Regions from separate parts of the Homo sapiens genome. Here regions 1, 2, 3, 4, 6 and 7 are each linked to region 5. Evidence: promoter capture Hi-C in 16 types of primary human blood cells and fetal thymus (Javierre and others, 2016). All regions are on one chromosome and are shown on one strand. The core of a region is centred on a gene start or on the middle of the fragment in contact, and the rest is flanking DNA. Distances in the headings are between cores, read along the strand shown. Region 1 has its middle 97 kb from the start of RGS1. Region 2 overlaps LOC124904475 (a long non-coding RNA gene). Region 3 overlaps LOC105371664 (a long non-coding RNA gene). Region 4 has its middle 120 kb from the start of RGS1. Region 5 holds the start of CDC73 (cell division cycle 73). Region 6 has its middle 80 kb from the start of RGS1. Region 7 overlaps LOC105371664 (a long non-coding RNA gene).

What was found. Contacts are between HindIII fragments. The CHiCAGO score rates a contact against its expected background, and 5 or more counts as called.
Region 1: a fragment that was not itself captured here is called in contact with the fragment with the promoter of CDC73 in region 5 in 10 of 17 cell types (neutrophils, monocytes, M2 macrophages and 7 more); the score reaches 17.9 in neutrophils.
Region 2: a fragment that was not itself captured here is called in contact with the fragment with the promoter of CDC73 in region 5 in 1 of 17 cell types (total CD4 T cells); the score reaches 5.0 in total CD4 T cells.
Region 3: a contact is called between a fragment that was not itself captured here and the fragment with the promoter of CDC73 in region 5, in 2 of 17 cell types (total B cells and monocytes). The highest score is 5.5, in total B cells.
Region 4: a contact is called between a fragment that was not itself captured here and the fragment with the promoter of CDC73 in region 5, in 3 of 17 cell types (total B cells, neutrophils and naive B cells). The highest score is 6.5, in total B cells.
Region 6: a contact is called between a fragment that was not itself captured here and the fragment with the promoter of CDC73 in region 5, in 2 of 17 cell types (M2 macrophages and neutrophils). The highest score is 5.4, in M2 macrophages.
Region 7: a contact is called between a fragment that was not itself captured here and the fragment with the promoter of CDC73 in region 5, in 3 of 17 cell types (monocytes, total B cells and neutrophils). The highest score is 6.5, in monocytes.

What each region holds. Positions count from the first base shown.
Region 1 is chr1:192,476,709-192,480,127 of GRCh38, forward strand. No RefSeq gene overlaps it. Among named protein-coding and RNA genes, the nearest start is that of RGS1, 97 kb to the right of the region's middle. The HindIII fragment of the contact is 4,574 bases long and covers 1-3,419 here.
Region 2 is chr1:194,059,459-194,063,102 of GRCh38, forward strand. The region is part of intron 5 of LOC124904475 (a long non-coding RNA gene); the gene reads left to right. Among named protein-coding and RNA genes, the nearest start is that of LINC01031, 760 kb to the left of the region's middle. The HindIII fragment of the contact is 4,408 bases long and covers 175-3,644 here.
Region 3 is chr1:192,510,938-192,514,704 of GRCh38, forward strand. It overlaps LOC105371664 (a long non-coding RNA gene), which reads right to left. Exons shown (of 5, transcript XR_002958418.2): 5 at 2,176-3,767. Among named protein-coding and RNA genes, the nearest start is that of RGS1, 63 kb to the right of the region's middle. The HindIII fragment of the contact is 3,164 bases long and covers 1-2,960 here.
Region 4 is chr1:192,458,528-192,462,394 of GRCh38, forward strand. No RefSeq gene overlaps it. Among named protein-coding and RNA genes, the nearest start is that of RGS1, 120 kb to the right of the region's middle. The HindIII fragment of the contact is 2,290 bases long and covers 1,171-3,460 here.
Region 5 is chr1:193,120,358-193,124,097 of GRCh38, forward strand. CDC73 (cell division cycle 73) reads left to right here and starts at 1,674. Exons shown (of 17, transcript NM_024529.5): 1 at 1,674-1,974. The coding sequence starts at 1,844. RefSeq lists enhancers at 1,171-1,817, 1,722-1,791, 1,818-2,462, 2,062-2,111 and a silencer at 1,482-1,561. The HindIII fragment of the contact is 13,310 bases long and covers 1-2,818 here.
Region 6 is chr1:192,493,544-192,497,150 of GRCh38, forward strand. No RefSeq gene overlaps it. Among named protein-coding and RNA genes, the nearest start is that of RGS1, 80 kb to the right of the region's middle. The HindIII fragment of the contact is 1,699 bases long and covers 1,442-3,140 here.
Region 7 is chr1:192,538,297-192,541,990 of GRCh38, forward strand. All of the region lies in intron 4 of LOC105371664 (a long non-coding RNA gene), which reads right to left. Among named protein-coding and RNA genes, the nearest start is that of RGS1, 36 kb to the right of the region's middle. The HindIII fragment of the contact is 1,260 bases long and covers 1,497-2,756 here.

The sequences.
Region 1 (3,419 bases), core at 213-2,712, 640 kb before region 5:
TTTATTTAGCAGATTATTTAACTTGCCGGTGCATCTATTTCTTCCTCTATGAAATGGAGAAACAATCCTATGAATCTCTATGAGGACTAAATTGGATAACGCGTTATGCTGGGTGTGGTTGACTGGCTCCCAGCAGCCAACCCCACCCGTTTCCATGTTCCTTTTTTGTACATAGGAGCTGAGGAGATAAACGCTACATTTAGCAGACTCCTTGGCAGCAAGGGCTCTGGGTGTGAATTGTGTCTGCCAACCAGAGGGAGAAGTTGGACGCGAACGCTTGGCTGTTCCTGCTGGCTAGCAACGTGGTAGGAACAGGTTTCTGTGCAACGGAGTTTGCATGCGTATTTCAGACTTTTCAGTGTTTTGAGATTTGTGACATCACTGCAGTAATGACCTCAGAGCGGGCACTCCTAATGAGTCAGTTGCACATTGTTTTGGCAGTCATCCCACAATATCCACTCAAAAACCGACTTCTCTGGCCCTCCCACTGATTGTCAGGATCTCACTTGCAGTATTAACCCACTTCTGTTTTCAGTCTCTAGAGTGGTTTGTTTCCTATTCTGAGCAATGACTAATATAGACATACAAAGTGCTTAACAGAGCACCTTTCTGTGGCACTAAAAAATGCTTGATAAATATAGCTATTAATATTATTATTATTATCTGGTATTTGACCTTAATCAAGTTGCTTAACCGCACTAAGCCTGAATTTTCTTATCTATAAAACAGGGACTTCTTAAGGAACTGCTGTACAGATAAAATAACATAATGTATGAAAAGAGCTTAGCACAGAGAGTAGGTGCCCAGTAAATTTTGTGTATAATTATATATTCCTTTTATTCATTTTCATTTTTTCAACATATAAATTATTTTATTAGTCGTTTAGCTTAATCCACACATAGTATAACACTATAACAGCATCAAACTGTTGTATGCCAATGTCTATGTTATTGACATGTAGTAGATTTCTAAATGATTTAGAAATGTGTTATACAAGAAGCCAGGTTAAACTTAAATAATGAGAGTTTCTGCAAAACTAATCGACTGACTCTTACCTCTGGTAATTTTTCCTTAGACTTTATTCTGCAATCACTAGAGGGCAGACAAATACAGTGAATAATCAGTACCAGCTAAAGCAGTAAATTCTTAATGAGCTTTCTGAATATGGGTAGAAACCGTTATTTTTCAAACATGAAAATAGAAGAACAAAGATACTTACTATGTAAGGACACAAATATCAGTTAAAAGTTTATAAGTTTATTTTAACTTCATTGTTATATAAAATTAGTAAGCACAATTTTCTACCTCATACTTATGTAAATTTTAAAGTAAAATCATTCAACAACACATACATTAATTTTTAAAATTAACAAGATAATTAAATGATATATATTCATTAGAACAGAGAGAGAAGGTAGCATAGTAAGAGGATCATGAATCTGGGAATACAAAGACCCAAACTCCAAATGGGTCATTTTACCTATTAGTTGTTGTAGGCACAGTGCTTTGGGCCGACAAACTTTCAAGATGCTAGAAAAATGTTTGAAACTTGTAAAATAATTGATTCCAGACTTTGAAATGAAGACTTTTTATTTACACACACACACATGCACATATATGGACACAACCTAACGAGCAATATTCCCAAAACAGTAAGAACATGTTGGAATCTTGATTGAATGGTAATAAATGATTTTCATAGAACTGCCCTCTTTACAATATTGGGTCTTACAACCTATGAATGTAGTACGTCCTTCTGTTTCTTTGTTTATTTGAGTCTTATTTTAATTCTTTTAAATGATATTTTACACTTTTCTATGCAGAGTTCTTGAACATATTTAGAGTTAGGTGTGTAAATATTTTTATACTATTTTAAATAATATCCTAATTTTAATTTCTAACTCTGTTACTGTTACATATAAATACAATTTCTGTACATGGCTGAAGTTATCTAACTTGCTAAATTCTTTTATTAATTGATATTAACTATGTGTAGAATCTCTTGAATTTTCCATATATATGATCCTCTGTTCTGCAAATAATATCAATTTTCTTACTTTGCTATATTTTTATTTTTATTTCTTCTTCCTACTGCATTGCTACATATCCTCCAGTATATGAAGAATTAAATTAATGACAGTAGTCTCCTAGCCTTTTTATTGAAACAGATGGAGAACTTATTTATAATTATACATAATATTTGTTAAAGGTTTTATCAATTTTATTAATATTTTAAATTTAGCAACTTTGATGATGCCTTTGTTTATGTGTTTGTTCTACTCCTTTTTTTCTGCCATGTTGTTTTTGTTTCTATTATAGCCTTTGGATTGAATTTGCTCTTTTTTTTCCTACATTCAACACCATGAAATGGAGGTTTAGTTGATTGATTTTTAGACTTTCCTGTAAAATATAGACATATAGGATTTTCAATTTAAATTTCTCTTTGAACTCATCTTTAATACAGTCCCACAAATTCTACATGTTGTACTTTTATTATGTATTTCATGATATTCCTAATTTTCATTGTGATTTCTTCTCTCATAGTTTTTATATAAACACATTTTTTAATTTTCAAGTATACAGGCTGTTTCCAGTTTGGTTTTCTTTTTTGTGGTCTGGTTTACTTTATTTTTACTGTGGTCAGAGAACACACTGTTATTTTAAATGCACTGAAATTTATAGATGGTTTATGTGTGATAGAGGGATATGAATTTTGCAGTTTCAAAGTTTGTATTACCATTAGGGGAAGCTGCTTTGAAATCTTCCCATATCACTGTGTATTTAATTATTTCTCAATCTAGTTCTGCTCATTTTTATACATATATATGTCATATAGTTTGTCCATTCCAAATTAGAATTTATATTGCCACTTGCTAAACTAAACTTCTTGTAATTATGAAGTAGTCTACTTAATCTCTAGTGATATGTATTGCCTTATAGTCTATTTTGTCTGATATTAATGTGTTTATACAGCATATCTTGATAAATATAACCTTGTTTTGTAGAAGTTGTTGGTGAAGCAGGACAGATCAGTTATATAATTGGTACACATAAGTATAAAAACTGAGTTGAAAATAATAAATTATAATTATTCCACCTGAAGTCCCAGCATCTTCATTCTGAAATTAAATTATTTAGTAATTTTTCAATATTATATAGATTAAAATCATCCTTCTATATCCTTAGACTGTGCCTTTTCTAGTCTTCCATATCTCTTCTCTTCCTTGGTGTGTAATGTTTCACCTCAAAACACGTTTGATGCACTTGCTACTGATATGGACAGGAGATAGGGAAATACTGAGTAAAAGAGGGCAGTTCCCCAGCAAAGGCTTCACCCTTAAGCCTGGAGACCCACAGCCCTAAGTGGGAACAGTCATTTCTGTCTTTGTACCCAAAAAGCTGCCTTTTGGCCCCCCATG
Region 2 (3,644 bases), core at 1,129-3,628, 940 kb after region 5:
ATAGCTCCACTAGGCAGTGCCCCAGTGGGGACTCTATGTGGGGGCTCCAACCCCACATTTTCCCTTTGCACTGCTCTAGCAGAGGTTCTCCATGAGGGCTTTGCCCCTGCAATAGACATTTGCCTGGACATCCAGGTGTTTTCATACATCCTATGAAATCTCTTGAAGCTCCCAAGCTTCAACTCTTGCCTCCTGTGGAACTTCAGGCTCAATACCACATGGGAGCTGCCAAGGTTTGGGGCTTGGATCCTCTGAAGCCATTGCCTGATCTGTACCTTGGCCCCTGTTAACCACAGCATGAGTTGGAGAGGCTGGGACACAGGGCCTCATGTCCCAAGGCTGCACAAAGCAGCAGGGCCTTGGGCCTAGCACATGAAACCATTTTTCCCTCCTAGAGCTCCAGGCCTGTGATGGGAGGGGCTGCTGTGAAGGTCTCTGAAATGCTCTGGAGACATTTTCCCCATTGTCGTGGATTAACATTCAGCTCCTCTTCACTTATGCAAATTTCTGCAGCAGGCTTAATTTCTTCACCAAAAATGGGGTTTTCTTTTCTACCACATGGCCAGGCTGTAAATTTTCCAAACTTTTATTCTCTGCTTCCCTTTTAAATGTAAGTTCTAATTTCAGATAATCTCTTTGTGAGCATACACTTTTAGAAATAACCAGGTTATCTCTTGAACGCTTTACTGCTTAGAAATGTCTTCCACCAGACACCATAAATCATCTCTCTCAAGTTCAAAGTTCCATAGATCTCTAGGTCAAGGGCAAAAATGCCACCAGGCTCTTTGCTAAAGCATAGCAGTAGCAAACCTACTCCAGTAGCAAGTACTGGAGTAAACCTTTACTCCAGTTTCCAATAAGTTTTTCATCTTCAACTGAGACCACATCATCCTGGAATTCATCACCACTATTAACATTTCGGTCACAACAATTCAACAAGTCCATAGGAAGTTCCAAACTTTCCCACATCTTTCTGTCGTCTTCTGAGCCCTCTAAATTGTTCCAACTTCTGCCTGTTACCCAGTTCCAAACTCAATTACACATTTTCAGGTATCTTTATAACTGTGCCCCACTTTCATGGTACTAATTTTCTGTATTTGTTCACTCTCACACTGCTATAAAGACATACCTGAGACTGGGTAATTTATAAAGAAATGAGGTTTAATTTACTAACAGTTCTGTGGGCTTAACAGGAAGCATGATTCGGAGGCCTCAGGAAATGTACAATCATGGCGAAGGGGAAGAAGGCATATCTTACCATGAAGAAACAGGAGAGAGAAACAGAGAGAGAGAGAGAATGGAGAAATGATCAGAGCTCATTAGAACTCACTCACTATCATGAGAACAGCGAAAGGAAAATCTATCCCCATGATCCAATCACCTCCCACCAGGCCCCTCCCCTGATACGTGGGGTTACAATTTGAGATGAGATTTGGATAGAACACAGAGCCAAATCATATCACCCATCTTGACATCTGCTTCTCAGAGGACATGAACTGACACATAGTCCTTTAGAATCTGATAAAATCCATATCTTTATCACCACTGAAAATTCTATTTTAATTTTGCTATGTGGATATTGTACTAGGTGATTGCTAAAGTCCTTCCAGCTATATTTTATAATTCTAAGTTTCTTCTTAGGTAGAGAGAGATTACGTTTTTAAAAATAACTAAATTTTCCTGTATAAAAATGAAAGTAAGACTTAACTTGTTCAGGACTGATTTCCTGTTACTTTAGGCCTCCTCTAACATGCTATCAAAATTGGCTTTACCAAAATACTCTAAATGATAGTAAAATGAGGTAAGAAATCAGGTCACCTTTCCATTTATCACAAAAGCTGCAACCTACAGACTATACTCCAGCTAGTGCTCCGAACTTTGATTACTAAAATGGTAGAATTGGGTCAGATAACAAGTTTCTGTTTTGTTGGATAGCTGCAGTCTCCTGGCTTGAACCCCAGCCTACCAATAAAGATAGAAGAAGAAACAGGCTCTTCTCCAATCATATAACTAAAAAATCTCCACTACCAATGGCCAGGTTCCTTTCCTAGAATTTATGCCCAGTCCTACTAAATACTAGTTTACTGGGCCATATTGAGGTGGGTGATGGTGTGAAGACACACCTTTTACTTTTTCAGTTTCTGTTCATTTTTTCCAATAAATGCTGTTCAGCGAACAAAATGTGTTCTATATGGCCATTGTCTTTCTGTTATTGAAATAGCTACTATGGCCAAGGCTTTTTTTTTTTTTTTTTTTTTTTTTTTTGAGACTGAATCTCACACTGTCACCTGGCCTGGAGTGCAGTGGCGCAATCTTGGCTCACAGCAACCTCGGCCTCCTGGGTTCATGTGATTCTCCTGCCTCAGCCTCTCGAATAGTAGTGATTAGTGGCACACACCACCACACCCAGCTAATTTTTTGTATTTTTAGTAGAGACAAGGCTTCACTATGTTGGCCAGACTGGTCTCGAACTCCTGACCTCATGATCCGCCTGCCTCAGCCTCCCAAAGTGCTGGGATTACAGGTGTGAGCCACCGTGCCTGACTGGCCAAGCCATTTTTATTGGTGTCCAGCATGGAAGGCTGGTAACAAATCAAGGGACCAGAAATCAGTCTACAAGTGGGAAACGTTTACATGTGGTGGTGTGGTATGGCTGAGATGGCCTGATGCTTCTGTTGTGCTACACAGTTCAGTTAAATGGAAACCATGAAGAAGGGGCACTAAACCCCATAAACCATGTGAACTCCATCATCCCTGACTCTCTAATTAAGGAAATAACCTCAATAAAACCAAGTTAATCAGTGGATCTACCACCTAGGGTTTCCTTATAAAACTATTATTATAATTGTTATTATTTTAGGAAAGAAATGTGATGAAAAGGATATTGTACCCAATCCTACTTAAATCAACTAACCATTTAGTGCATAAGGTAGATAGAATGCTAGGAAAAATATGAGCCATCTGAAGGATGGAGATGAGGAAAGCCCAAAAGTGTGTACCATACATATCAGATTAGGATACCAACACACTTGGTGTGATGGGGTGGCCTATAAGGAGCTGTCTCCTGGGACCCTATTATTGGGCATTGGGAAAGTATAAAAGACACTATTGCTGCCTCACTCAAATCACTTTTACCAGATCAGTGCCTCCAGCCTTCCACTGCTTGGATGTTGGCTATTAACAGCTCATAGTTATATTCTGTTCCTGATAATTGTTCTTGACTAAAGGAAATTACTCACCCAGACATGTCAGAGGAGTAAAGCCTTTCCTCAGAGACAGCTGATAGCCAGTTTTTAATAGATACTGGGTACAAATAGTCACCCCTCTTTCATCAAGTTGAGACAGCTCTCTAGTGTCAGTTATACTCCAGAAAGCCCTGTTCGATCAGGCTAGACTTCAGCTGAGCCCATTTCTTTGCCTAGTTTCTTCCTCAGTTCAATCCTATTACCTGCTCCTGTACTGGATTCAGTTGAGAGCAATCACTCCATAAATCACTTGCTCAAGAATCCTTGTCTCAGGCTCTTCTTTTAGCGAAACTGACTTACGGAAGAAGGGCTTAATGCTCTCAAAGAAGATAAGTAATAATATAGTGAAACAAGGGAGAAGTTCAGTGACTTGCCAAGTCATGCTGTTGTTGGATCCAG
Region 3 (3,767 bases), core at 129-2,628, 610 kb before region 5:
GTAGCTGGGATTACAGGCATGTGCCACCACGCCTGGCTAATTTTTTTGTATTTTAAGTAGAGACAGGGTTTCACCATATTGGCCAGGCTGGTCTCAAATTCCTGACCTTGTGATCCACCCGCCTCAGCCTCCCAAAGTGCTGGGATTACAGGCATGAGCCACGGCACACAGCCAAGAAAAATTAATTTAAGATTATCTGGCTCCCAGGTACAAGATGAGCTGGGGGCAGTAGAGATCTGGCAAGTAGAATAGCAAGAAAGAAACATGATCATTTATATATGAGGTAATAAGAACTAGTAAAAGTAGGGATTGAAAGGTACATGTCAGCATATTTCCCAGAGTTTTTTTTTCAAAATCCAGGAGAGAATTTGGTTCTGAGTTGTTTACTAAAAATATTGAATTACAATCCATGCCATGTCCACAATTAGTTGTGTGAATTTGGGCAGGTTATTTATTTGAGAAGTTTCTTCATCCATAAATAAAGTTGTATTAGATTATATTTAATGTTTTCTTCCTTTTATATTATGATTAAGATGTGTTTGCTGATTTGTTTTAAAGTTACAGTTTAGAAAAATATAAGAGCCTTTAGCATCTATTTCTTTCAAGGCATTAAGATTAAATTTCACTGAGTGTGTGGCGCTATGTTTGGAACAAAGAAGATGCACGGAAATACTCCCTGTGTTGAACTGAATTTAACTGAAACTTAAAAATTATCAAAGAAAAAGAATAAATTCTAGCCTTATCCCTGTATCTATTAAAGACTGAATATCAAAAAATAAAATGTTTAGAATTGGTCTAGATTCTTCCATTGTCCTGCTGAATTTCTTGGCCAGTGATATTCCAAGTGTGGTTCCTGGACCAGACTATGGGTTACTAAATAATTTATATATAATTTGTGTGTGTGTGCACGTGTGTGTGTGTGTGTGTGTGTGTGTGTAAAATCGCCTCAGGCATTTTTCCACACTGGAAGTCACCTCACAGCCTTAGGTAGCAAAACTATGCCTAGAATAGCTGTATTATTCCAGAACTTTTTTAATATTCCTAGATACTCTTTATGAATGAATCCAAAAAGCAAAAGACAGAAGCAGCCTGATTGAGAAGGCCTTGCTCCTTGTTTCTAAGAAAACTATTATACAAAGTGAAACAATATAAACAAGATTTATTTGTTTGTTGCCTAATCTTTTAACCCAGACAGATGATCATCTATAATGGCTTTGTTTTTCAGCTTTTTCTGCCTCCTGTTGTTCAGAGTAATGACGTGGAGAGAGCTCAAGCCTGAGGAACTAATAGGTATTAGTTCAAAATCCAATTCTGCTGTGCAATCTCAGACATGTTTCATAAACTCTCCATGCCTCAGTTTCCTTATCTCATTTCTCAGATTTCTTATCTGATAAATAAATAAGACACTATAATAATAGCATAGTATTTGGCACAAATGAAGTACTCAACAGATCTGTGTTCCCTTCCTCCATCTCTAATTTGTGAATATTATTTCTGAACCTCTTTCTTAAACCCTAGAACTAACGTAGGAAATAACTTCTCCTCCACCCCATCCATGGTGTTATACATGGAGGAAATACACATTTGGGGAAGTGCACAGCTCAAGTGACTCTAACCCTGGATTTCCAGCTGATCCCACCCCAGAACCACCCACAGGGAAAAGGAAGAGAAACCACTTCCCACAGCTGGGGCTTTCCTCATTTCCGAAGCTACAGAAGAATGATCATAGTACTCAGAGGAAGCACTGCTGGCCTGGAGGTCATTTGCCACAGAGGGAGTTCAATAGCCCCTTAGTCCTGTCAGGGCTTCTCCCTTATCCCACATTACTCATCTGTAACCTAGTACTTTAAGTAAAATCTTGTCTTTTGCAAAGTAAAGAACATTAATCTTCCACCTTTTACATTCCTACTTTCTCAATTTATGCTTTGTTTGAATAACAAGAATGGAGGAGATAAGGGGAACAACTGTACTTCCTAATGGTTAGTCCACAAAAAGCCATTAGCATTCACTGTAAACAGCATTCATCAATGTGCTGTCTTAGGTCAGGATCAACTTCCTTATCTAAACTTGAGAAGGGACTGCCCTTTTTTCTCTATCTCACTTATAATACTTGTGGGTGGCAGAAATGACAGCAATCACACACTGTCACACAAGAATGAATCTGACACTTCACTGTTGAAATTCTATTATCTTTTATCTCTTTGATATCCTTTACATTAAACTTAATTCTCAAGTTCTCCAATTGGTGTCTACATCAGACTTGTAAAGAGTTATAGAAATTATAGGAGTCAAAAATAGTTTAAAAGCCTTGTGATATGGATATATGTAAGAAATACTCTTCTTTGAATAGTGAAATACCTTAGCTCTCTAGTTCAGCTAATGTACATATTTTCAAAGCAGGGAAAAGACAGCTGTGTGGATGTAGAGAAGTAGGGGAGAGGAGAGGGTGGATTTGCATTAATGATGGGGCTTCAGTGGGAAGGAAGGAAGGAAGGAAGGAAGGAAGGAAGGAAGGAAGGAAGGAAGGAAGGAAAGAAGGAAAGAAGGAAAGAAGGAAAGAAGGAAGGAAGGGCAGGAGGGAGAAAATAGCTAGCTTCATTTTAGTTTCAAGTTAAATGAAATACAAAAATAAAACCACATTCATTTCTCCCTAAGCGTTGATACAGATACATAAATAAAGTATTGTCAGAAAGATGCTGTCTAACTTTAAATAATTTAAAGTTACAGAAAAGAATCAATTTTCCTGATGTTTATCCCTTCAAAATCTTAAGACTCCTTCTTAGTGTGATTTGGACCAAAAATAAAATAGAACCAGGCAAAAACAAAACAAAACAAAAAAAAACAAACAAGACATCTCTTGTTTTTTAATTTACCCTACACAGGATGCTTGTACTATAAGGTAAGCTGTTGGCTGCTCTTCAGCATACCACTGCTTTCCTGACTTCCACTGGTAGGCAGGAAGCTTGGCTCTTTGGGCCGGCACAGGCCTTCTCAGTATGGAAGTAGGATTACACACCATTGAGTGTGTAATCAAATCAGTCAAAGTACTCCTCATCTCTACCTGGTCCTTTCCCTTTCATTTCATCCCAGAACCCACCATCAACTCAAGTTGATTCATCATTATTAACCAACAAACTTTGATCATTTTTAAATTATTCATAATTAATTCACTTTGGCTACATGTTTATGAGTGTAAAGCAAAATATATGCCTCATGATCTCAAAAATGGTTCTAAATAATAAGATCTGGGCCAGTGTTATGTAAGTTAATTTTCTTTTGCAAATGTTTGGGCTTGATCAGATTACAGAGATTTTTTTTTTCCTTTGCCAGGATTCCTAAAGACATTTCTGGTTTCCGAGAACAGAAGGGTTTATTATTCCAATCTGTTGTTAGCACCTTGGAAACCAAAGACATTTATTAGATTGCCCTTTATAAAACTACATTTAGTAACCAGTATGCCAAGATTTACATTAGATTCTCTTTGTTATAGTGATTTCTGCTGATACATATACTATGCTAGGAAGATTCCAGTCAGTGATTGTGAAATATCTCCTATATTATTTGAATTAAATAGGCTATGGTCAAGTCTTAAAACTCAAAGATATATATATCTATAGGTACATACATAGACAGATACATACCACTAGATATAGATATATATTTGCCACTGTAAATAGTTCATATTTTATTGCTATTAACTCTTTCAACCACTAAATGTCTAAGGTTATGAATTCATCAAATATACAAATGCAATTTTTTTTTTGAGA
Region 4 (3,867 bases), core at 1,066-3,565, 660 kb before region 5:
AAGGAAGAGGATTAGCAGGGAAGACATAATATTCAACTATTTCTGTCACTAGTAGACATTTTCAATTACCAAAATAAGTTTGCTCAGTAAACTATTTATTTGATTGCGATTAAGAACACAAAAATTAATTTGTGTTGGATTAACTTTCAAGGAGTTCGAAAAAAGAACTGAACACTAAAATCCAATGGTATCTGTTTATGGGGAATCATCCTTTGAACACTTCAGCTTAGCAGTTCTCAAAATGTGATCTGCAGACCCCTGGGAGTCCCCCAAGACAATTTCAGGGGGTCAGCAAACTCAGAGCCATTTTAACAATAAGATTATTTGTTGTTTTCACTGTGTTGAGATTTACACTGAATGTGCAAAACAATGATGAGTCCAACAGCTGACATTTTAAGATGAATCAATGCAGTGGTACCAACTGTATAGTGGTTTGATATTAATCTCTTTATTATTTTCCTCACTGCCAATACATCCACTTTCACTTAAGAATGTCCTTGGCCGGGCGTGGTGGCTCATACCTGTAATCCCAGCACTTTGGGAGGCCAAGGCAGGCAGATCACCTGAGGTCAGGAGTTCGAGACCAGCCTGGCCAATATGGCGAAACCTTGTCTCTGCTAAAAATACAAAAAAATTAGCCAGGCGTGGTGGCAGGCACCTGCAATCCCAGCTACTCGGGAGGCTGAGGTAGGCAAATCGCTTGAACCCGCGAGGTGGAGGTTGCAGTGAACCGAGATCTCACCATTGCACTCCAGCCTGGGCAACAAGAGCGAAACTCTGCCAAAAAATAAAAATAAAACAATAAATTTTAAAAAAAGTCCTTGGTGAAACAGCAAAAAGTATTAGTGTTATTAAATCTGGACCCTTGAGTACTTATCTTTTCAACATTCTGTGTGATAAAATGGAAAGTACACATAAAGCCCTGCTGTTGCATACTGAAGTATGATTGTTGTGAGAAAAAAAAAAATTGTGCAATTAGGTTATGAGCTGAACTAGCTGCTATTTTGTGAAACAATTTTTACTGAAAAGAAAAACTTGTAGATAAATGTGGTTATTCAGACTTGGATATTTGGCAGACATTTCCTCAAAAATGAACAAAATGAGCCTGTCACTTAAGGAAAACAACTGACAGTATTTATTGCCAATAGCACAATTTAAGCTTCAAGTGAAAGCTTCCATTAGCTTGACAGCTTTCCAACACTTAAAGAGTTGCCTGATGAATTTTGGTAGTGATATTAATGAATGAAATTTTTGATATTGTGTAATGAAGTTCATCAACATTTGGAAGACCTGTATAACTCAGCATAACAATATTCTCTAAGTGTTCAATGCATCATATTACAGAATCAACATTCACATCACACAATAGACCAGTGGATTTTAATGTCATGAGAAGTTTATTGAGATAGTTTTAGATTCTACATTACAATTAACCTTGAAGAAACTACTATAGCCAGGTTTGGATGTAGTTCCAAAGAAGACTATTCACAGCTATCTTTAAAAGCTATTAAAATATTCCTCCATTTTAAACTACATACATGTATGCAAGACTGGAGTTTCTTCATTTACTTCAAACAGAGCAACATATCAAAAAAGATTGGATGTAGAAGCAGTTACAATAATCCAGCAGTCCTCTATTAGACCCAATATTAAGGAGATTTGCAAAAATGTAAAACACTGCTTTTCTTCTCACTAAACTTTTATTTGAAAAATATAGTCACTTCATTAAAATATATTATTTAAGCTAGTGTGTAATGGGATTATTATTGGTTTTTAAATAAATTAATATAAATTTTTTAAACATTAATTTCTATTATTGTAAATATAAATACATAAATTGTTTTGATGTCTTTAGTAGAGTTTCAGAGCATAAAGGGGTTCCTAAAACCAAAAGTTTTGATAATTTCTGATTTTGTTGAGCAAAATTTACCTTTAACCATGATTTCTATTATATCCATAAATAAATTTATTTAATTTTAAATGTTATAGTACCACTAATTTACAATTTATGCCAGTCAAAAAAAATCTGGCCCTCACGTTTTATTGCAAAAGAGTTGAAACACATCTCATTGTAATAAAATTAAAAATCTATGGACCCCTCTCTTTTTCCGCCATTTTGTCAAAACTGCAAAACAAGTCTTGCGGAAGTAGGCCTAAGGGACTTTTGCACCGATATTGTACTGGCAACCCACCACGTACACCAATTTTTATTGTCATGGCCCAAACTGAAAAACAGGTTTTTTGACTTTTTTCCTCCTCAGAGAGAGTTTTTTTCTTTTGTTTTCTGGAAGCACAGCTTAGGAGCCTGAGATGATAATTTTTGCACGTATTTTTCTCCTTCCTTTGGGAACCTTAACCATATAGAGACCTTAACACAAACCCTGATGCTCCCTTCATATTTATCCAGAATAGCCCAAGCAAAGCCTGAAAATAGGGTATCAACAATAAAAATCAGAAATTTGATTCACAGATCAACACTTATATAACTGGCCGAGGTGTTGGCAATAATTCTCAATTCACATAACACATATTTGTTTAATAAAAAAGAGACGATGTTTGTTAGAAATACTTTAAAAGGTACCTAATCAGATATTTTTACCAAAACAGATGTTTCAGATGACAGAATATAGAAGTATAAATCCGAGGTGGGATGGGTGGGTATAAAGAGGAGTTCTGAGAGTGAAGTAAAATCTAAGCTGTTACAGTCTAAGAAGTGGACAAGAGGACTTCCTAGCCCATGATTCATATGTCTGCCTCCTGGGTACAGGTAAGTCTTATTGAGATCAAATAGAATATTCAAGAAGAATGGCTTGAGCCCTTGCTGTGCATCCTATAGCAATTGTACCACTGTCCTCCAATAAATTCCTGCACATTCTCAAGGGTGGGGTTGAGGGGTTAGGGCTGGAGTGGGGCTGATTTTCTGTCAGTTCACTTCACAGCTTGGTTTCCTGCTGCTGTCCAGCTCACCCAACCACAGTTCCCATTTGGCCCACCATGTCCCTTCATACTGGATTTCATCTTTCTGTGACAGAGGCACATTGTCACCTTTCAAATTCACATTCTTAACTTATCTTTCAAAATAATAGAGTCCTAATTTTGACCTTCACAAATTGCAGTCAGCTGAAAGTCTATGTTTTCCAATTTTCTTTATCTCTACGTACTGGCCAGTAAGATGTGTGTAAAGTTCTGCATAAATGAAAGTGTTCTGTGGAACTTCCAGAAAGCCTCATTAGGAAAGAAAAAATATGTTCTTCATCCATTTCTCTGTACTATCCCCTGAAATACAGATGAGAAGTTCTGTGGGAGTGACTACATGGGGAGCCACAAGGATGACAGCTTCGCCCTCAGGGTGGCAGAGTGGAGATCTAGAAGGAGCATGGGTTCCTGATGACTGACCATGGAGTCACCATACCTGCTATGGACTGCTTTTCCCTGGAATTCTTTATGTGAGAAACAAATAAGCTTCCCATCATATTTAAGCCACGTTCTTTCAAGCTTTCTGCCATACAGAGCTGCATCTGGTCATAACCAAAACGACATCTTTTTTTTAATTCCACAAATTATAAGAAACACAAGCCTATTTTAAATTTAAAAAAAATGTTCAGTGGAAACTTGATGGCAACAGATGGGGAAGTATTGAATAGGAAGGAAATACTGCAAATTCAATAGAGGTCATCGCTGTTTCTAGATATTTGTTATCACTTCTCTGCCACAGACATGTTCATCATTGTCTAGATGTGTCCGTAAGTCTTTTCCTTCTGACATGCTCTTAAGGAGCTCCTCCTCTCTATTTTGACTTTTCTTTTTAATGCTATCTTCTCATTTACTCATGGTAACTCCAAATACCTCTAACTTTATATTGTCTGT
Region 5 (3,740 bases), core at 424-2,923:
AGAGACTTTAATCATTATTTGAGTATGAAATAAAATTAAGTATCGTTTGAAGGGACTATAGTCGAGCCTCCTAATCATGAAATCTTGGCTTCCTTGAGCTTATCTTTCCATTCATTACTTCAACATTTATTAGAAGCCTCTATCCATGTATTAACTCGATATTTACTAGGAGCTTCCATCAATTTATTGAATTCATCCATTTATTACTAATATGTACCAAATAATGTTAGACAGTAGGATATGAGGACACAGATCTATGGTGTTTCAGTTTTGTGGATGCAGGCAAATAAACTATAAAGGGAAGTAATATGGTACTGAGTGCTCTGACACAGGTATGAATAGAGAATGTGGGGATAGGTAATTGTAGCCATTTCTTTATAATGTGTGTGCTTGGGGTGAGATTCAGGAGAATACTACGGGGTGAAAACATTGGTGGAACAGAAAAAAATTTCACAAACTAACAGTTGCAGAATGGCTACAGATCATATCGGAAATGAACCACACACTTCTGTATCTGTAGTCCTCTGCGTTGTGAAAAGATTGACTTTTTTCAAAACAGGTCAAGGAATTTGGTTATGTCAAACACAAAGTTGCCTCTTTTTTCCTTCTGACATGGTAAAAGAAAAAAAACAATCCCATAGGATGTGTTTGGTTGGCCATAGTATATTGAACTTATCTTAACCGTCTCAAAACGCATGTCAAGGACACCACTGAGACTTCTGAGTACCATTTAAAAAATTGGGTAGTCTGGAAGTGTTCTAAATTGGACCGTTTGGGGTTTCTGTTAGGGCAACTTTCCCATTTACATCTTGGAACACAGCCTTTTGAATATAGCCCTTCGGGATTGGCGGGGAGAAGGGACCGCGATGGAAAAAGTCATCATCCAAAGAATGAAGAGGGAGGATCCAACATTTAGGATATTTTATTGACTTGCTAGGCGCGTTTACCTTATCTTCGTATTAACCCCATTTTCTTCATTAACCAATTGATGCTGTGAGAAGCTATGTAACTTGACGAGCAGTGCCCAGAACTGTTTTTTTTTTTTTCTGGACTCGGTCTTTTCCACTCAAAACCAACAAAAAACCAAAACTCGTTCTTTTCCACATCAAAAGCAAACAAAAAACCCCAACCCCAACCCCAAGAGCCCCACTCTTTCAAAAGGGCTTCTCCGGATCACTAAGTCCTAGAGGTCTTTGGCTAGGCCTGGGTCCGATCTAAATAGGAAGGTAATTCTAGTGTTCCGCAAATCCTTGCCGAATTCCATCCCGGCCAAAGCAGGGACCCGGGGGAGCCTCTGGTCGCACCCGAGACAGTTCGTTAAATACTCAGTGCACGTGCTGGGGATGGAAGTGCTGACCCACTGCTCAGGTACGCGCGCACCTGACGCCGCTTGGTGCGCGCCGCGGGGTACTGGGTACGTGCTCCGCGCGCGCGCGCCCGGCAAAGTTCCCCGTACGTGCGCCGTACGTGGGCGCGGTGCCCCAGCGCTCAGCGTTTCAGCGAGTGAGTGGGCTCCGTGCCCAGCTGAAGTCTGGGAGGGGCACTTTTCCAGGCGGTCGCGGCTCCCCCTGGCGGCGGATGTGCCTCGCTGGAGGGGCGCAGTCAGGCGTTCTCCGCGGGCAGCCGGCGGCGGGGCCTTGCCTTACAGCGCGGGGTCCTCGGCGGCCTGGGTGGCTACTGCCCCTGCTGCTGTCGTAGGCGAGGACGGCTGTTAGTGCTGCTGCTGTTGGTTCGTCGCGGCGGCGAAGGAGGAGGAGGAAGAGGGCGAGGCGACAAGAGAAGAAGGAGGCAGGCGCGGCGGCAGCGGCGGCGCCCCGAGCCGGCGGAGGCGAGGGGGGGGAAGATGGCGGACGTGCTTAGCGTCCTGCGACAGTACAACATCCAGAAGAAGGAGATTGTGGTGAAGGGAGACGAAGTGATCTTCGGGGAGTTCTCCTGGCCCAAGAATGTGAAGACCAACTATGTTGTTTGGGGGTAAGTCCGGCATGGCTGTGGCCCAGGGGTGGCAGGGCAGAGTTGGGCGCCCCCAGGCGACCTCTTTCTTAACCCCTCCCCCCGTTTCCCCTGGGGATGGGATAAAACGGGTGTTCGGGGAAAAGAAAGTTTCTCTCTAGAGCAGAAGTTGCACTTTTAGGGTAAGGAAAGAAGGGGCGGAGCTCTAGAGCAGTTCATCACTTAAAATTTTTGAGAAGCCCAAAGGAAAGGTACCGTGGGAGTTTCTGACTTTTACAGTTAATTTTTATCAGTAGGTATGTGTACCAGCGAAGTGTGGGACTGGTGCGCAAGGGATACCTGAACATAGGTGCACAAAGGAGCACACCGTCTGGTGCCGTAGACGCCTCTTTTTGTTCTTTATTTTTTTTTTCTCTTTTCCAGGCTGCTATGTAACTATCTCCGCTGGTCTTTGCAACTCCTGGTTTATTTCATCTCCTTTCATTGTTGGGGTGGGGGTGATTCCTGTAGAAGAGAAAAGGGAATCAACCCTGAAGTTAGGACCGGAAAGAAATTTGGTGAATTTGGAAGAGTCATAAAAGTCTGTGTTAGAGAGGTCTTCAGGAGTTGGTGAAATGAGTGAGCTTTACAGATCTAAGAAATAGATGGTGCGTGTGATTTTTCGGAAGTGTATTTTAAAGGGAAATGTTTGGGAATGTTGGTCCATGTGAAGTTTTATCAGTTTAAGTCATTCAGGAAAACTTCTAGAGACGGCTCTAACAGTCATTAGGGGCCTTTTTAATGATGTCACTGTCATTGGTGCATCGCTTCTAGAATTAGAACCTTGAGCTACAACTTCCCTACTCATTTTGTTTCTTTGAATGGAAGCTTTATGAAGAGTCGATGAAAAACTAGGGAAATTTAGTTTGTTGGTTGGTATTTATTTATTTATTTTTGAGAGGGAGTCTTGCTCTGTCGCCCAGGCTGGAGTGCAGTGGCGCGATCTTGGCTCACTGCAATCTTTGCCTCCTGGGTTCAAGTGATTCTCTTGCCTCAGCCTCCTGAGTAGCTGAGGTTGCAGGCCCCCGCCACCATGGCCGGCTAATTTATGTAGTTTAGTAGAGATGTGGTTTCACCGTGTTGGTCAGGCTGGTCTCGAACTCCTGACCTCAAATAATCTGCCCGCCTCCACTTCCCAAAGTGCTTGGATTACAGGCGTGAGCCACGGCGCCCTGCCTATTGGTTGGTTTTAAAATTTTTTTGTCTTATGATTTAATTAGCTTTATAAAATGTTGATCAAATGACATTCTGAGTTTCTGGTATTTTACCCTTTCGAATAATTTGCATAGGTAGAATTACATGTGGTTGGATTTTTAGTGAATTTTTTTTTTTTTAGACAATGGCTAAGGAGTACCTAGGGTGTGAAGTGGTTCAATCTGAGGATTAAAAAAATTCCTAAGACTCTGGTTTCTACCTCAAAGGAGGTTAACTTAGTCTGAATAGAGGAGATTAAACAGATAAGTTGATGTGAAATGCTTTCTATAAGTTGATGTGAAATGCTTTCTACAATAGCTTTTGAAGACAGCAGTCACTTCTAGTTGGGGTTATTTAGGAGAAGGTTCCATAGAATTGTCTTTGGCAAGTTCACATCCAACAAAGTTTTCTTGAATGAATGAATGAATGAACAAACAAGCTTTAAAGAATAGGTAGGAATTCTCTGGGCTAAATGATGGGTTAAGTCTTCCAAGATGAGTGAACTGTATACTTAAAGGCTGTATGCTTAAAGGCATAAAGAACTGGAAAGTAAA
Region 6 (3,607 bases), core at 1,041-3,540, 630 kb before region 5:
AACTAGTATCTTCAACAAATATATGACATTATTTTAAAAAGCCATTTAGAGACATATTAACTAAATACAATATGTGGTCTGTGTTTGGATCTTGATTCAAAAAACTGTAAAAAGACATGTTTTTAGATAAAAGAAGAAAATAGAACATTGGGCCACTTATTGGATGATGTGACATTATTTGTAAAATGTTGTTATTCGTGATGAAATACTGCTAAGCTAAGCCTTTTTTATAATTATCTATTAAAGATGTATATTGTAATATTTATATGTGAAATTATGCAATATCTGTTATGTGGTTTATAATAATCTAGAGAAAACTCATATATAAGATAGGGTATAGACAAATAAGAATGGGAAAATGTTGATAATTGTTGAGCTGGGTGATGGGTAGATAGGAATTCATTATATTGTCAACTTTAGTACACATTTAAAATGTTCCAAAATAAGTTTCTAATAATTATTTACATCTTTAATGTTACTCTACATATAATACCAAATCAAAAGATTGAGTTAAGAGTTTATGAGGTAATTAAGTTTAAGAAATATTAGAATTTTAGGAAAATCTCTTCAGGGCATTAGCCTATGCAAAGAATTTATGACAAAGACCCCAAAAACAAATGCAAGAAAAACAAAAATAGATACATGGGACTTAACTAAACTAAAAAGCTTCTGGATAGCAAAAGAAATAACCAACAAAATAAATAGACTACCTATAGAGCGGGGGAAAATATTTGCAAATTATGTCCCTGGCAAAGGACTAATATCCAGAATTCACAAGGAACTGAAATAACTCAAGAAAAAAGGAAACCACCCCATTAAAAACTGGGCAAGGGACATGAACAGACATTTCGCAAAAGAAAAAATACAAATGGCCAACAAACTCATGAAAAAATGCTCAATATCACTAATCACCCGAGAAATGCAAATTAAAAACACATTAAAATATCATCTTACATCAGTCAGAATGGCTTCTATTAAAAAGTCAAAAAACAAAAGATGGTGTAGATGCGGGGATAAGGGAATGCTTATATACTGTTGGTGGGAATATAAATTAGTTCAACCTCTATAGAAAATAGTATGGAGGCCAGGCTCGGTGGCTCATGCCTATAATCCCAGCACTTTGGGGGGCTGAGGTGGGTGGATCACTTGAAATCAGGCATTTGAGACGAGCCTGGCCAATGTGGTGAAACCCCATCTCTACTAATATTTTAAAAAATAGCCAGGCATGGTGGTGCATGCCTGTAATCCCAGCTACTAGGGAACCTGAAGCAGGAGAATCACTGGAACCTGGGGGCCAGAGGTTGCAGCGAGCCAAGATCCCACCAGGTCTCAAACTCCTGGTCTCAAGTGATCCTCCCATCTTGGCCTCCCAAAGTTTGGGATTACAGGCATCGACCACCACACCCAGTCTTGTAGCTTAAATAAAAATATAAAAAGTGAAAGCTTAAAGGAAAAAATATATATGTGCTAAGCAAAGGGTGAGCACATGAAATTCGGTGTGGCTATATTAATATCAGATAAGAAATGCAAGCAAGGAAGGAGATAGATATTAAAAGAGATATTTGGTAATGATAAAAGGGACTATGCATCATGAAGATTTAACAATCATAAATGCATATGGATCTAATGACAGAATTCAAAATACGTGAAACAAAAATCATGGAAATAGAGGTAATAATAGACCAACAACTATAGTTGGGGATTATAAAATCTTTTTGTGCATAAAAGAACAAGTAGAGTTTTAAAACTAAGTATCAACATAGACAGTCTAAACCATACTCTCAACTAACTTGATTTAACTGACATTTATAAAACACTTTCTTTTCAAGTGCACATGGAACTTTCATCAAGAGAGACCATGTGAAATACTATAAAATACATTTCAGGAAATCCTAAAAACTTAAGACTTATAGAATGTTTTTTTGAGCACAATGGAATTAAACTATAAATCAGTAACAGTAAGTCTAAAAAAGCCTCCAAATATTTAAAAATGAAACAACAATCCTATAACAGAGATTATAAATAAATCATGCAGAAATTAGAAAATATTTTAGACCTGATAATAAAAAATATAATATGTTGAAATTTATGGGATTCAGCTAAAAACGTACTTAGGAGAAATGTTTAGCTTTAAATGGATATCAGAATTTTTTAAAAATTTTAAATCAATTATTTAACCTTTCATCTAAATAAGCTAGGAAAAAAGACCCTATTAAAACCAAAGTAGAAGAAAGGAAATAATAAAAATTAAATCAGACCAATTAAATAGAAAACTAACAATAATTAGAGTCAAAAAGTGGTTCTTTGAAAACATTGATAAAATTGATTGATCTCTCTCAAGATTGACCATGAAAAAGACAGAAAATACAAGTTTTCAATAGCAGTAAAAAAAGGAGGAAATAGACATATATTGGCAGTAAACAGTATTATTTCTGTGTAGAGATCTTTCATATTTTGTGTTAGATTTATTGGTAGATATTTGATTTTTTCCATGCTATTATAGATAGTAGTACTGTTTATAATAAAATGTAATAAAATACTGTTTATAATAAAATAAAAAATCAAATATCTATTAATAAATCTAACAAGAATAGAAAAGATCTCTATACTGAAAATAATACCTAGCTGAGAAAAAATAAAGACCTAAATAAATAGATATTTTATATATGTAACATAGAAAATGTCTTATTGTTAATACATTTTTTCTACCCTAATTAACCTGTTCAACACAATCCCAATCAAAATCTCTGTATGCTTTTTAGAAGAAATTATGAAAGTGATTATAAAATTTATATGAAGTGCAAAGGATCTAGACTAGTCTGATTGATCTTAAAACACAAGAATAAAGTTGGGGACTTATACTACTCCATTTCAAAACTTAATAAAAAGGTACTGTGATCATGACAGTTTAATATTGGCATAAGAACAAAGTTTAATATTGGCATAAGAACAAATAGTTCTTAATACAAAGGTACTGTGATCATGACAGATTAATATGGGCATAAGAACAAATAGTCCTCCAGCTACTGGACAAATATTTGAAAAATATTAAACTTTGATTTCTATCACAATCACATTCAGTACAAATGTTTGTATATTAAGATGAATCATAGACCTATTCATAAGGGCTGGAACTATCAAGCTTTTATGAAAAATGAAAAAAAATATTTTTGTAACCTTAAGTTTGTGAGTTAAAATGTATCTCTGAAAAGGACATGTTCAAGTCCTAACCCCAAATATTTATAAATATTACCTTAGACGGAAATAGAGTCTTTTCAGATATAATTAGTTAAGTTAAAATGAGGTCATACTAGAGTATGGCAGGCCCTAATCCAATATGATTGGGATCCTTATAAGATGAAGAGAACGGACACAGACACACACAGGGGAGAATGTCTTATGAAGACAGAGGCAGAAATTACAATGGAATGCCAATGATTCCCAATAACCACTAACGTTACAAGAAGCACATGAAATGGATTCTCCCTCAGAACTTCCAAAATAAACTAACCCTGAAAACTCCTGGATTTCAGACTTGTAGCCTGCAGAACTATAAGAGAATAGTTTTGTTTTGGTAAGCCAGCCAGTTCACAGTGCTTTGTTACAG
Region 7 (3,694 bases), core at 877-3,376, 580 kb before region 5:
GAGTGAACAGGCAACCTACAGATTGGGAGAAAATTTTTGCAATCTACTCATCTGACAAAGGGCTAATATCCAGAATCTACAAAGAACTTAAACAAATTTACAAGAAAAAAAAACAAACAACCCCATCAAAAAGTGGGTAAAGGATATGAACAGACACTTCTCAAAAGAAGACATTTATGCAGCCAATAGACATATGAAAAAATGCTCATCATCACTGGTCATTAGAAAAATCAAAACCACAATGAGATACCATCTCATGCCAGTTAGAATGGTGATCATTGAAAAGTCAGTAAACAACAGGTGCTGGAGAGGATGTGGAGAAATAGGGATGTTTTTCCACTGTTAGTGGGAGTTTATCCTTTTTTTCTACACAGGGATATTCAGGTGGTGGCATATCTAAAAAACCTTACATAAACAAAAATGTATTTTTAAAATATATTTTATGCTACTTAAATAAGAAACCAAAAAAGAAAAATGGGAAGGCGATTGTCCTCTCCTCCCAGGCAGGGTAGATAAGAAAATAGAGAGGCAACATGAAGTGGATACTTGCAACTCTTAATGAAACTGAACCAGATACTCAAGACAGATGGGCTCCCCTACATCTTGCAAAGCAAAACTTATTTGTTCCTTTTACATTTTCAATTGCTTAATTTGAATTTCTTGGTGCAGGCAAAAGGATTTGTGAGAAATGTTTTACCCTCTTTCATTAAAAAAAAAAAAAACTATTCAATAGCAACTGTCTGAAGAAGGGGAGAAAAAAGGAAAGAAAACAAGAAAAGCCACAAAGCCCAGCTGCACTTAGTTTCTGTTCACTTAGTGCAGCTTATGACGTAGGCTCGTTGTATTTTGAATTTGCACATTAAAAACATTCATTCAGAGAGGAAACTGCCTTTGGCATAACCTGCAGAAGCAAATAGCATTCACAGAACTGTTATTCAAAAAATTGTACCCAGAGAGCTATATTTCTTATTTAAATGAAACTTAAGTAGAACCAGGGAGGAGGGGGAGGTATGTTTTATGGTGGGTAACTTCTGACTTAAAATTTGAATCAGGTTTCATAAACAATTATTGGAATCTGAGAAAAAGTCAAGCATCAAACCCTGAGTAGCTGAGAGTTTGGGGGTCTCACAGCACAAAAAAAAGGGTGTTGAAAGAGGAAGCCCCGTTTTTGCTCTAAGTGACTTGCCTGATCCCGAAGTTATGTTAGCTTGTTTACCTCCAAGCACACCTTTGGAGTGAGATTTTTAAAGCAGTTCTCTTTGTAACATCAACATTACAATCTATATCCTGAAAACTACGAAGTTTTATATTCCTCCTTCCCCTCACTAGGCCTCCCCTGGCCTGCTTGTGTATTTGCTTCTTAGGGTCTACAGGCCTCTCTCTGAACTAAAGCTCTTTTGAAGTCCCAGACTTCCTATCTCCACCCAGGATCTAACTTAGTGTGATAAAGGATAATTTATTTATGAAAAACATTCATGCCATTCTTTTAAACTAGAAGCTTACATTTCAAGGGTATGGAAATGATTTCTAGCTGCCCTAATTTCATGGCATTGGGCTGTCGTATGTCATATACCACTGCACTGTTCATAATATTTAGACAGTTCCATAGCAACCTGTAAAATACAGCCTCCAGAGGTCTGCATTCCTCCAGCTATTCATGAAGGATTGGAGGAATTCCAGAGGAAAGAAACCACATTACAGAGCACTGGGTCTGAAATGCTCCCTTTATGGTAGCAATTGCAGGAAACCTGGAGCAAAAACATGTCTTAGGATTTGATGCAGACCTCACTACAGTTTCTAGAAGCATTCCCTTTTCACTTCTAGTTTTCTGACTTTACTTATAAGGTATCCAAAAATGGTTTGATAAAATTAGACTGCTTTATAGCTTATCTTTTTTTCCTTTCCAGGGTGGACAAATAAATTATCAGATTTTTATTACTTAAAATGTGTTATACAAAAATATTAGTGGGCAATACAGAAACGCAAATATATTCTAAGGCCTGGTTCTCTTTCCATTTGCTTCTTGAAATTTGCAAGTAAAATTTTCATTTTGGCCTACTTTTGAACCAGACCACAAAAACTTACTTTATTACACTATCCATTCACATTAAAATAGAATTTCTACAGTGACCAGCACAGAGATTTTAAATAAATGTGGTCGACACTCCTTAGTCACTGTTGCCATCTTCACTCTCTCCATCTCTCATTTTCATCAACCTGTAAGATAAGTCACTATCTATTTTCTATCTATATTTCATTCAAAATGTCTTATACGTTTGTAGCTCTCTATTCTCATAGGTACTACTTATCTCCAAATTATATCTCCTCGCATAAGATTACCATAATAGTCTACCACTTTATGTCTTTTAAAATATTTCCTGTAGCACCTTATAGAACACACAATATTTTATATATTCATCACATTTGATCCTCAACCTATGTTTTAAGCAAAGCAAACATCATCCCAGCTTCACAGATAAGAAAATGGTCTCAAGAAGACTAAATGACTTTCTTAATCAATGTCATGAAGGTAGCAAGAGACAGAAACAAAACTTGAACTCAAAACCCTTGAATCTAAATCCCAGTTCCCTAAACTTAATACTTCCTTCTTAAGGCCAAATAACAACAGCACAATAAAACCCGCTAAAAATTTCAACAGGTCCCTATTTATTAAACACATATGGCAACTTAGAAGTGGAGTGGCCTTACAGAGTATGAGGTTTAACAATCCTCATTTTATATATTATAGCTCCAGAAGCTTGAGGACTGGGTGATATTTCCAACATTACAGAACCAACGATAGACCCCACCAGTTCTTGAATCCACTGACTCCCAGCTACAGCATTTTCTGCTACACTTTTCTGTCTTACTGCCTTAAGTGACCCCCAGAATTTTTAGCTTTTGATAACATGTCCCAGTAACATGTCCAGCTTTAATTTTACCATCTCAAAAATGTGCCTCTGCTAAAAACAGGTTTATACATTTCACTTTCCAACAGGGGGACCACACTGATACAACCTCTGGACAGTGGTCCACATTGCTCACCAAACCTGGAGCAATGTTCCCTTCAGTCTTTCCAAGTACAAGTCCTAGTCAAATTCTACTCCCTGCACAGAGCTGGCATCTCTGTACCTCAAGAAACCTCCCTTCTCCGACTTCTTGCAGTACTTGTAGTTTCTACCACACAGATCTCATACCTGCAAATCCCTTTGAGGTCAGTGGCCAACTGGTCCTATGTTCCTGTCTAATCTCGTTCCCATGTTCTCCTCACTGAGAACAGTTGTTATATGAAATGTTATTTCCTTTTCCTAGAATATCCTTCCACTCTCACATATTAAACTGTCTAGAATATTCCTACTCAGGCTTTGCTTCTCAGCTTAAATGCTGCTTCCTCCATGAGGCCCCTGCTGTCTCTAGGTGACATAGGAAAGCTGTTTTCTGAGTTCCTATAGCATTCTGTACATTACTCCTTCAAACCAGTTATCTGATTTATATTGAAGTTGTCTACATGTCTGTTTCCTCACTAAAGATTCCTTGTCATAGACACAGTCATCAGCTTTTCTTATGTACTAAGTACTATTCCCAGGACAAAACTGGCACATGATATTTGTTAAATAAATCCAAAAATGAAATATTTATTTGCATAATAATGAAGACATTCTGTGTTACTTTAAGCTTAATAAATAAATACGGA